Regions from separate parts of the Homo sapiens genome. Here region 1 is linked to region 2. The links are contacts of gene promoters, found by promoter capture Hi-C in human tissues and cell types (Jung and others, 2019). All regions are on one chromosome and are shown on one strand. Each heading gives the region's core, a stretch centred on a gene start or on the middle of the fragment in contact. The rest is flanking DNA. Distances are from core to core; before and after follow the strand shown. Region 1 overlaps NLRP7 (NLR family pyrin domain containing 7). Region 2 holds the start of GP6 (glycoprotein VI platelet).

Region 1 (5,804 bases), core at 2,629-5,128, 110 kb before region 2:
GCTCACGCCTGTCATGCCAGCACTTTGGGAGGCCGAGGCGGGTGGCTCACCTGAGGTCAGGAGTTTGAGACTAGCCTGGCCAACATGGTGAAATCACGCCACTGCACTCCAGCCTAGGCAACCAAGTGAGACTCTGTCCGCCCCACCACCCCACCAAAAAAAAGACTACTATCTTAAACAAAATCAAAATTTTTAAGTAGATAAAATATTTAGGGGAAAAAAACTTCAATTAAATATGCAGCAGAGTCCGACCCAGATGTTTTCACTCCCAGCCTCTACCTACTATCTTTGTGTCTTTATTTTTAGCAAATTCTACACGGGAACTTCATGTGCATGTAGAACCCTAAATGTTGACTCAGCCCTACCTCTCATCACCTGACCACTTCCTTTATTCACGCTGTCTCTACCACCCTTCCCATCGGTGTGAGCTGTATCCCGCTAAACACTGTTACCACCCACAGCCTGCATTACTACCAGCTGACTGTAGCCTTAAACACCACAGTGATCTCGAGCATTTGAGAAGACTTATCTTGACAAGGGCTCACGAAAGACAGCAATGCTCAACAGCAAGATAAATGAGGGCCTTCATGGGATCATTCAGTGCTGAAGCCACTCAACCTCCAGGTTTGGGTTAGTAAAAAGAACTTTGTCAGGCCAGGCACAGTGGCTCACGCCTGTCATCCCAGCACTTTGGGAGGCCAAGGCGGGCAGATCACCTGAGGTCAGGAGTTCAAGACCAGCCTGGCTAACATGGTGAAACCTCGTCTTTACTAAAAATACAAAAATTAGCCAGGCATGGTGACGCACACCTCTAGTCTCAGCTACTCCGGAGGCTGGGACAGAAGACTCACTTGAACCCAGGAGGCAGAGGTTGTAGTGAGCCAAGATCGCACCACTGCACTCCAGCCTGGGCGACAGAGGCAAGACTCCATCTCAAAAAAAAAAAAAAAAAAAAAAAGAAAAGAAAACTTTGTCATACAAGCTTTCAACCTAAAGCATTAGCCATATGCCCGTGTTTTTGTGCCTGGGACCATGACAACTTTCCCCATATCAATGCTCTTATTTTTTTTTTTTCGAGACAAGAGTTTTGCTCTTATTGCCCAGGCTGGAGTGCAGTGGCACAATCTCAGCTCACCGCAAACTCCGCCTCCCGGGTTCAAGCGATTCTCCTGCCTCAGCCTCCCGAGTAGCTGGGATTACAGGCATACACCACCCCACCCGGCTAATTTTGTATTTTTAGTAGAGACGGGGTTTCTCCATGTTGAGGCTGGTCTCGAACTCCTGACCTCAGGTGATCCGCCCGCCTCGGCCTCCCAAAGTGCTGGGATTACAGGTGTGAGCCACAGCGCCTGGCTGCTCTTATTAAAATAGTCTCATCACCTACCGCAAGCGTGGAGAGCCAAGTGAGGAGAGGGGTCAGTCCCTTTTGGCAGCGCCTGGAAGCCAGTGCTAACATCATGGTGACAACTTTTCATTCTTAAGGAAAATTGCGGAGTGACTTCTATGCATTTTCTATGAATGACCAAATACAGGGTGTGGAAAAGCTGTGTTTGCCATGGCAATGGGAAGCCGAGAGAAACGGGGAGGCGAGAGAGACAGAGACATACACAGAGACTCCCAGAGACAGCCACACAGACTCACACAGAAACAGACAGACAGGCTGGGCTCGGTGGCTCACGCCTGTAATCCCACCACTCTGGGAGGCTGAGGCGGGTAGATCACCTGAGGTCAGGAGTCCGAGAACAGCCTGGCCAACATTGTGAAACCCCGTCTCTAGTAAGAATACAAAAAATTAGCCAGGCATGGTGGCACAGGGCTGTAATTCCGGCTACTCGGAAGGCTGAGGCAGGAGAATCACTTGAACCTGGGAGGCGCGGTTGCAGTGAGCTGAGATCACGCCATTGCACTCCAGCATGGGCGACAAGAGTGAAACTCCGTCTCAAAAAAAAAAACAAAAAAAAAAAACGAAAGAACAGAGAGACACATACAAAGACAGAGATAGAAACGCCCAGCGACAGAGACACACACAGAGAAACACAGACAGACACAGAGACACACACACAGAAACAGACACAGAGACAGAGAGACAAAAAGACAGACACAGAGAAACAAAGAGAGACACACAGAGACAGAGAGAGAGAGAGACACATACACACACACACAGAGAGTAGGAGGCGGCCCGTGGGAGCCGAGCAGAACCAGCGTGAGGCAGGGCCATCTTCTGAATTAAAGGCAACAGTGACTGTAAGCTTGTGCTTTGTGAGTAACAGGATAGATTAGAACAGGGCTGGCTGCCCATGGCCCACGAGCTGTTTCTGGGAAGCCTCCGCAGGTGCCAGCCAGGCCCTGCGCTGCTTCCATGTCCAAAGGCACAGCTGAGAGCTGATGAGAGACCGCGGGGCCCACAGTGCCAAGCATATGAACTATCTGGCCCGTTTGTCAATGCGTGGGTTGATCACATAAGTTATGATCACATAAGTCACAAAGACACACTGATCACATAGATGCACCTGGCAGATAGTAGACCACATGGCGCCTGAGTTAGGGAAGAAAAGAAATAGAAGAATCAACCGAATCATCCCTGAACTTCTTAGCAATACTTCCTCCTAGACAAAGCACAGAGTACCATGTTTATTGCAGGTTTGCTCCTGAGCATGTCAATAAACGCAGCTGCAACGAGAGTGCTCTAACTTTATTATCCCTGTGAGAAAGTACATAGCGTCATGTGAAGGGGGTGCGTGACTCGTGCAGAATCTCCCAAAAATAGTGAGAAAACCAGTGTCAAATCCTACCTCTCGACAGACTCTAGTGTTAACATGTGACCCTCTGACCTGCATTCATAAGACATCTTAGAGACCCGAATCCCGCTTCCTGTGTAATTCGTAGAGCGATCCCAGGCTGCTCAGCAAAAAAAGTCACAGCACGGAGGTGCCGTTGCCCCGGAAGCATTGCAATCAATAGTCAGCTTGGGATTCTTTTCTTTCACTTCCTCCAACAGCTTCTTGATTTCCAAATTAGTTTCATAGGTCTTCAACCTGGAGGGATCAGAGAACACAAATGTTCCCAGAAATTCATTCTCAACTACCCAGGATGCCTGAATATCTGTTTTCAAACACTCAAAGCAGGAAACGTTTTTGGGATTTTCTGGGGGACAGGGTCTTGCTCTGTTGCCCAGGCTGGGGTACAGTGGTGCCATCTTGGCTCTCTGCAACCTCCAGCTCCCAAGTTCAAGCAATTCTCATGCCTCAGGCTCCTGAGTAACTGTGATTACAGGTGTGCACCACCACGCTTGGCTAAGTTTTGTATTTACAGTAGAGATGGGGTTTCGACATGTTAGCCAGGCTGGTCTCGAACTTCTGGCCTCAAGTGATCCATCCACCTCGGCCTCCCAAAGCCATGGGATTACAGATGTGAGCCACAGCACCCAGTCAGAAAAGTTTTCTAAAAAGAAATTTAGACCCACACAATGGGGATCCTTATAAGTCTAAGAAAAAAAAGATTATGGCCAGGCACGGTGTCTCGCACCTGTAGTCCCAGCACTTTGGGAGGCCAAGGCAGGCAGATTGCTTGAGCTCCGCAGTTCAAGGCCAGCCTGGGCAACACGGTGAAACCCTGTCTCTACCAAAAATAGAAAAAGTTAGCCAGGAATGGTGGTGCACGCCTATAGTCCCAGCTACTCGGGAGGCGGAGGCAAGAGGATCACTTGAGCCCAGGAGGCGGAGGTTGCAACGAGCTAGAGATTGCCCTACTGCACTCCAGCCTGGTAACAGAGTAAAACATGCCTTTAAAAAATAAATTTAAAAAATAGATAATCAGGCTGGTGCACGGTGACTCACGCCTATAATTCCAGCACTTTGGGAGGCCGAGGCGGGCAGATCACCTGAGGTCAGGAATTCGAGACCAGCCTGGCCAACATAGTGAAACCCCGTCTCTACTAAAAATACAAAAATTAGCTGGGCATGGTGGCAGACAACTGTAATACCAGCTACTCAGGAGGCTGAGACAGGAGAATCGCTTTGAACCTGGGAGGCAGATGTTGCAGTGAGCCAATACCGCACCACTGTACTGCAGCCCGGGTGACAGAGCGAGACTCTGCCTCCAAATAAATAAATAAAAAATAGTGGCAAATCAAACCTTCAGTAGAACTAAGAGAATGCCAGAGTGAACCCCAGGGTTAATGATAGCAAACTTGGCTCTAACGTGGCTGCAGCATGCAAGCCTGTGTATGTGAACATGAGGGGTGGTGATTGTGGAGACACTGGCTTGCTATGTTGCCCAGGCTGGTCTCAAACTCCTGGCCTCAAACAATCCTCCCACCTTGGCCTCCCAAAGGAGGAACTGAGGAATGAGAAAAGAAATACGCCCCAAACATATGACATAAGAGACCACAGGGGGCTAGAGATTTGTCACCAATAGTCCTTGGTGGCATTACAGACCTCGGTCCCACCAACAAGAGAAGCATGACACTATTTAGCTCAAGTTTCATGATATACCCCTAAAACCTTAACCCATTTATGCCAGAGGTTACAATTATTTGAACTGCAGACGTGTGAAAAATCGTACCTTGAGCAGGATATAAATAACTCCCACATGCTTAGCGTTCCAATAATGCAACACTGGGCATCATGAAGCAGTTTACATGCGTATCATCTCTACAACTAAAATAACTCTTGAATAAGACAAGTGGGCTGTGCACAGTGGCTCACGCCTGCAATCCGGGTACTTTGTGAGGCCAAGACAGGAGGATCGTTTGAAGCCAGGAGTTTGAGAACCTCGGCAACACGGCCACACAGTGCAGCAGAGCAAAACGTTGTCTCAGAAAAGAAAAGACAAAGGCAAGAAGAAACTAAAGGTAGATTACGTTAAAATAAGTCACTGAGGCCGGGCGCGGTGGCTCACGCCTGTAATCCCAGCACTTTGGGAGGCCGAGGTGGGCAGATCACCTGAGGTCAGGAATTCGAGACCAGCCTGGCCAACATAGTGAAACCCCATCTCTACTAAAAATACAAAAAATTAGCCGGGCGTGGTGGCGGGCGCCTGTAGTCCCAGCTGCTCGGGAGGCTGAGGCAGGAGAATGGCGTGAACCCGGGAGGTGGAGCTTGCAGTGAGCCGAGATCGCACCGCTTCACTCCAGCCTGGGCGACAGAGACTGGAGTCTCTGTCTCAAAAAAAAGACAGATTCAAAAAAAAAGACAGACTCCGTCTCAAAAAAAAGACTCCGTCTCAAAAAAAAATAAAAAATACAAATAAGTCATTGAAAAGATATACACGGGTCACAACTAAGGGAGCATCTGTAGGACGATCTTCTGAAAAGCTAAGACCCAGGACAGCTCTGGGAACTACCTATTTTTGGATATAATGATTAGGGGTGTGTGTGTGTGTGTGTGTGTGCTCATGCACACACATACACACAAGCTTCCAGTCTGTACTCCAGGATGATTTAAACTCTCAGTATGCCTAGGACTAAGTGTTTTGGGGGAAAGTTGGACAATATTCAATTCACAGAGCATTTTAGAAAAGTATCTAATTTTTAAATTATCTCCTAAGCTAGGAGTGTGCTATAGAAAGATGCCTTAAGTTGATCCCTACAAAGAGTACACACACTCCCAAAAAAACTCTTCTCTGCATGGGAAATTCACCATGTGAAACAGCCATCCCAGGGCCGAGCACAGTGGCTCACGCCTGTAATCCCGGCACTTTGAGAGGCTGAGGCAGGTGGATCACCTGAGGTTGGGAGTTTGAGACCAACCTGACCAACATGGTGAAACCCCATCTCTACTAAAAACTACAAAAATTGGCCAGGT
Region 2 (6,359 bases), core at 956-3,455:
CGAGATTCCGTCTTTAAAAAAAAAAAAAAAAAGTCTTTTGCAGCAACTTGGATGGAGCTGGAAGGCATTATTCTAAGTAAAGTAATACAGGAGTGGAAAACAAAAATCTGTATATTCTCACTTATAAGTGAGAGCTAAGCTGTGGGTATGCAAAGGCATGCAGAGTGATGTAATGGACTTCAGAGACTCAGAAGGGAAGGGCAGAAGTGGGGCAGGGATGAAAAACTACACATTAGGTACAAGGTACACTAGTCAGGTGACAGGTGCACTAAAATCTCAGAATTCACCAGAATATAATTCATCCATGTAACCAAGAACCACTTGTATCCCAAAAGCTACTGAAGCAACAAGCCAGATGCAGTAACCTGTACAGGCCACACCTGTAACCCCAACACTTTGGGAGGCCGAGGTGGGTGGATCGCTTGAGCCCAGGAGTTCAAGACCAGCCTGGGCAACATAGCGGACCCCCGTAACTAAAAAAATTACAAAAACAAGCCAGGCATGATGGTGTACAACTGTAGTTCCAGATACTCAGGAGGCTGATGGGGAGGCACTGGTTGAGCCTGGGAGGTTGAGGCTGCAGTGAGCCATGATCATGCCACTGCCCTCCTGCCTGGGTGACAGAAGTGAGGCCCTATCTCAAATAAAATTAAATAAATAAAAGTTAAAACAGGCTGGGTGCGGTGGCTCACGCCTGTAATCCCAGCACTTTGGGAGGCCGAGGCGGGTGGAACCTGAAGTAAGGAGCTTGAGACCAGCCTGGCCAACATGGTGAAACCCCGCCCCTACTAAAAATACAATAATTAGCCAGACCTGGTGGCAGATGCCTGTAATCCCAACTATTCGGGAGGCTGAGGCAGGAGAATCACTTGGACCCGGGAGGCAGAGTTTGCAGTGAGCTGAGATCATGCCATTGCATTCCAGCCTGAGCGACCGACTGAGCGAGACTCCATCTCAAAAAACAAACAAAAAGAAAAAAAGAATACATCCATGGATGGATAATGAATGAGAGGTTGTTTATATTCACAGTTAACCCTCTCATCTCCAGTAATGCAACCATCTTCTTCCTGCTTAGCCTTTTGGAGATGCTGTCCCTTTAGTGGTCAAATTCTGAAGAAATCAGGAAATAATGCATTCGACATGCCCAGCACAAGTGAAGATCAGGCAGCAGAAATGCATTCGACCTGCCACCCATCCATCAGGAGACTATTTACTCCACTACTGTAGGGGATACTGACAAATTAAATCCATACCTAGTCCAGATATCAATTCCACAATTTTTTTTTTTTTTTTTTTGAGACGGAGTTTCGCTCTTGTTGCCCAGGCCAGAGTGCAATGGTGTGATCTTGGCTCACCGCAACCTCCACCTCCCAGGTTCAAGCGATTCTCCTGCCTTAGCCTCCAGAGTAGCTGGGATTACAGGCATGTGCCACCACACCCGGCTAATTTTGTATTTTTAGTAGAGATGGGGTTTCTCCATGTTGGTCAGGCTGGTCTCAAACTCCCGACCTCAGATGGCCCACCCGCCTCGGCCTCCCAAAGTGTGTAAGCCATGGCACTCAGCCTTTTTTTTTTTTTTTTTTTTTTTTTTTGAGATGGAGGCTCTCTCTGTTGCCCAGGCTGGAGTGCAATGCCTGACCTCAGCTCACTGCAACTTCTGCCTCCCAGTTTCAAGCAATTCTCCCACCTCAGCCTCCCACGTAGCTGGGATTACAAGCACCCGCCATCACGCCCGGCTAATTTTTGTAGAGATGGGGTTTCACCATGTTGACCAGGCTGGTCTTGAACTCCTGACCTCAGGTGATCCACCCACCTCGGCCTCCCAAGGTTGAGATTACAGGCGTGAGCCACTGTGCCTGGCCCACATTTTTTAAAAAAGGGGCAACTGCAGTGTAGTAGAACAAAGTTGTGACCAATGCTAGGATACTCTGTTCATTTCCTGACCCAGCCATGAATACACTGGAATAACTCATGCAAAATGCCAGCTCGCTGGCCCCCCGTTTCCCCACCCAACAAATGAAGGGGCTCTTACAGGTTCCTTTTTGTCCTGAAATTCATCACCAATGCAAATTTCTTAAAAATCCTTTGTCTGGCAGTCCATGCCTGTCCTTCAGCATTTCCCAGATCTGACCCTCAGGACTCACCAAGACAGAAGAGGGCGGTCGGGGATGGAGACATGGTTCCTCAGCCCTGTCCTGAGCTCTGTGGCCAGGGAGGGAAGTGGTGGGAGCCTGGGGCACAGGCTCAGGATGTGATGAGGATGAAGAATGCTCTCCTCCCTTCCTCCACCAGCCCCGGCCTTTCCTAATTGAGACTCATCGAGCCGTAGCCGGCTCCTCAGTACAGTGACTTGCACACAAGCTCCAAGGAGCCGCGCTTATCTCCTCTGGCCAGCCTGGCGTTGCACCGTTTGTCCGCCTGCTGGGGCCTGGTCTGTGTTCCCGTGCTCCCATAAACTCCCTGATGTCACTAGGAAAATACGCATCAAAACCACAGTGAGATATGACTTCACACCTTCTGGAATGGCTGTATTTTTTTTTTTTCTTTTGAGACAAAGTCTCGTTCTTTTTGCCCAGGTTGGAGTGCAGTGGCGCCATCTCGGCCCACTACAACCTCCACCTCCCAGGTTCAAGCGATTCTCCTGCCTCAGCCTCCCAAGTGGCTGGGATTATAGGTATGTACCACACCAGGCTAATTTTTGTATTTTTAGTAGAGATGGGGTTTCACTGTGTTGGCCAGGCTGGTCTTGAACTCCTGACCTCAGTTGATCCACCTGCCTCGGTCTCCCAAAGTGCTGGGATTACAGGCATGAGCCACTGCACCCGACCGGCTATAATTTTTTTTAATGGAAAACAGCAGATATTGGTGAGTATGCAGAGAAATTGAACTGCGCGTGCATTGCTGGCAGGGACGTAACATGGCGCCCCTGCTGTGGAAAACAGTTCCAGCAGCTCCTCCAGAAGTTAAACGTGGGATTGCCATAAAATCCAGCAATTCCACTTCGGGGTACACACCTAAAAGAACTGAAAACAGGGTCTCTAACATATTTGTACACAGTGTTCATAGCAGCTTTATTCACAATAGCCAAAAGGTGAAACCACCCACATGTCCATCAACAACAATGGATAAACAACATGTGGTATATACACACAAGGTAATATCAACCAGCCTTAACTAAAAGAATAAAAATCAGCCAGGCACAGTGGCTCACGCCTGTAATCCCAGCACTTTGGGAGGCCGAGGCGGGCGGATCACCTGAGGTCAGGAGTCCGAGACCAGCCTGGTTAACATGGTGAAACCCCATCTCTACTAAAAATACAAAAATTAGCTGGGCGTTAAATTAGCCGGGCATGGTGGCAGGTGCCTGTAATCCCAGCTACTTGGGAGACGGAGGCATGAGAATCGCTTGAACCTGGGAGGCAGAGATTGCGGTAAGCCGAGATCGCACCACTGCACTCCAGCCTGGGCGGCAGAGTGAGACTGTCTCAAAAATAAAAATAAGGCCGGGCGTGGTGGCCCATGCCTGTAATCCTAGTACTTTAGGAGGCTGAGGCAGGCAGATTGCCTGAGCTCAGCAGTTCAAGACCAGCCTGGGCAACACAGTAAAACCCCCAAAAAATACAAAAAAAAAATAGCCGGGCATGGCGGCAGGCACCTGTAGTCCCAGCTACTCCGGAGGCTGAGACAGGAGAATGGCTTGAACCCGGGACGCGGAAGTTGCGGTGAGCCGAGATCGCGCCATTGCACTCCAGCCTGGGTGACAGAGCGAGATTCTGTCTCCAAAAAATAAAAAATATTATAAAAGAATAAATTCAGATACATGCTACAACGTGATGGACCTTGAAGACATTATGCTAAAGGAAATATTCCGGACTTGACAGATAAATACTGCATTGTGCCGCTTATCTGAGGTATCGAGAGGAGTCAAATTCATAGAGACAGGGATTAGAATGGTGGTTGCCAAGGCCTGGGAAAAGTGGGGAGTTACTATTTAATAGGGAGCGCTTAGGTTGAAGATGATGACAAAGTCTGGGGGATCCATAGTGGTGATGGTTACACAACACTGTAAATGTATTTATATTTAATGCCATTGACTGTTTTTTGTTTTTTGGTTTTTTGAGACGGAGTCTCACTCTGTCGCCGAGGCTGGAGTGCAGTGGCGCGATCTTGGCTCACCGCAACCTCCGCCTCCCAGGTTCAAGCGATTCTCCTGCCTCAGCCTCCTGAGTAGCTGGGACTACAGGTGCGTGCCACCATGCCTAGTTGATTTTTTGTATTTTTAGTAGAGACGGGGTTTCACCGTGTTAGCCAGGATGGTCTCGATCTCCTGACCTTGTGATTTGGCCTCCCAAAGTGCTGGGAATACAGGCATGAGCCACCGCGCCCGGCCAGTGCCGTTGACTTGTATGTGCACTTACAGGTGGTTAAAATGAGAACTATCAGGGTGTTGATATCTAAAAACCTCCCTGCCATCATCTTCCCTACATCTCTCATTCAGTGACCATGGTTGAATGCCTGCCACCTTTCAAATATTATGTCAGGCACTCAGTATTGGCAGTTTTATCCATTATAAATGCTTTAAGCTGCATAGAATTTTAAACGTGTTAATAAAAGTAGTTATAAATCTTTAATACATAAGCTGGCTTTAAAATTATTGGTAAAATAAGATTAGAAATGTCTTAAGAATTGTTGGCGTTTTTGTTTGCACTTATTGAACGAGTGGTTTCATGCTTATCCCTGCAGAATACTATGAGATTTGTCATAAGGGTTATAAAACTATAAACCCGGCTGGGCGTGGTGGCTCACGCCTGTAATCCCAACACTCTGGGAGGCCGAGGCAGGCAGATCACCTGAGGTCGGGAGTTTGAGACCAGCCTGACCAACATGGAGAAACGCCATCTCTACTAAAAATACAAAATTAGCTGGGTGTGGTGGCGCATGCCTGTAATCCCAGATACTCAGGAGGCTGAGGCAGGAGAATCGCTTGAACCCGGGAGGCAGAAGTTGCAGTGAGCCGAGATTGCGCCACTGCACTCCAGCCTGGGCAACAAGAGTGAAACTCCATCTAAAATAAATAAAAATAAAACATTTGTTTTTTGTAGAGTTGGGGTTTCACTATGTTGCCCAGGCTGGTCTTGAACTCCTCCTGGGCTCAAGCAATCCACCGACCTCAGCCTCCCAAAGTGCTGGGATTACAAGTGTGAGCCACTGTGCCTGGCCCTATTGGGTCCTTTTAAAAGATACATAAAAAATCAAATGCAACAGTGAAGTCAATCACCCGATGGCAGAAATTGGGGTGCTCCTGGCATGTGGTCGGTCGAAGCCAAGGACACTGCTCAGCATTCTGCAGTGCACAGGACGGCCCCGCCCAGGCGGAGAATGATCCGGTGACACATATAGGTGGGAAGGATGCACGAATGATGGCGTTTAGGAAGAATATTATCACTTCTTTCCCGTAAGAGCAACTTAGAGCAAGAAAATGGTATTATTCTTAGGGCCTTCTCTCTTATGGAGGCTCCAAGCCAGGGTTGCCATGGCAGAAGATGCTGGGCTTGCTTTTTCCTTGAGAGAACTGTACTCAAGATGATGTAACTGTCACCCCGGGTGCCACTTGGGTGCTTTGGAGAAGCGCTCAGACGCGACACGCCGTGACGACTCCGCGGCAGGCAGCCGGACCTGTCCTCTGGCGTGCGGTTCACGGGCTGTGTTTATCCCCCTGGTTCCTTCACAGCCACCTTGGGAAATACGTTGCCTCTGAATCACGCCAGGCAGGCTCTCACTGTGTGTGCTGCGGGGCTGGAAATCAGGGTGACACTCCGCTACCGAACAGCCTGACTAGGAAGCCAGAAAGACGCTGCCGGCTTTAGTTTGTCCTTTGACTTTCCTTGATATGAATGAAGATAGAGCACTTCCACACTGCACAACAGGAAAAGCCCAGAACGCTTCCTGGAGATAGCGAGGGGGTGATGCAGCGGACAGCTATGGCTGATGACCCCCTCACCTCTGACTCCCCCTCCCTCCCTGCTTTCTGAACGCACATCCATCACCAACCATAGGTTCCTGTTTGGGGTTTGCTGGCTGGAAAAAAAAAAAAAAAAAAAAGGAAAGCTGGCTTTCTAGTAAAAACCACTTCCTTTGCTCATTTATCAAACTCAAACGCTAGGAGGGCCACCTAACATCCTCCGTCCCACGCAATGGGGTGTTTCTGGAGCACTCCGGTTTATCAGGGACCCTGTCAGTTGCCATCGCACATGTATATGGGGCCAGCCCCTGTGCCACCGAAGAGGGGGGATATTGAAAACATGTTACAGCCAGGAGCGGTGCCCCCTTGGTTCAAGCAGTTCTTCTGCCTCAGCCTC

The links. The method cuts DNA at HindIII sites, captures the fragments that hold promoters and counts their contacts. A contact is called where the count stands out against the background at its distance.
Region 1: a fragment that was not itself captured here is called in contact with the fragment with the promoter of GP6 in region 2 in 2 of the 25 tissues and cell types used here (neural progenitor cells and thymus).

What each region holds. Positions count from the first base shown.
Region 1 is chr19:54,920,838-54,926,641 of GRCh38, forward strand. NLRP7 (NLR family pyrin domain containing 7) reads right to left here. Exons shown (of 11, transcript NM_001127255.2): 11 at 2,678-3,035. The coding sequence ends at 2,903. It also overlaps a transcript of NCR1 not described here. Among named protein-coding and RNA genes, the nearest start is that of NCR1, 18 kb to the left of the region's middle. RefSeq lists an enhancer at 1-491. The HindIII fragment of the contact is 4,526 bases long and covers 1,616-5,804 here.
Region 2 is chr19:55,036,059-55,042,417 of GRCh38, forward strand. GP6 (glycoprotein VI platelet) reads right to left here and starts at 2,206. Exons shown (of 8, transcript NM_016363.5): 1 at 2,145-2,206. The coding sequence starts at 2,178. The region is part of intron 2 of GP6-AS1 (GP6 antisense RNA 1); the gene reads left to right. It also overlaps a transcript of RDH13 not described here. The HindIII fragment of the contact is 34,893 bases long and covers 1-6,359 here.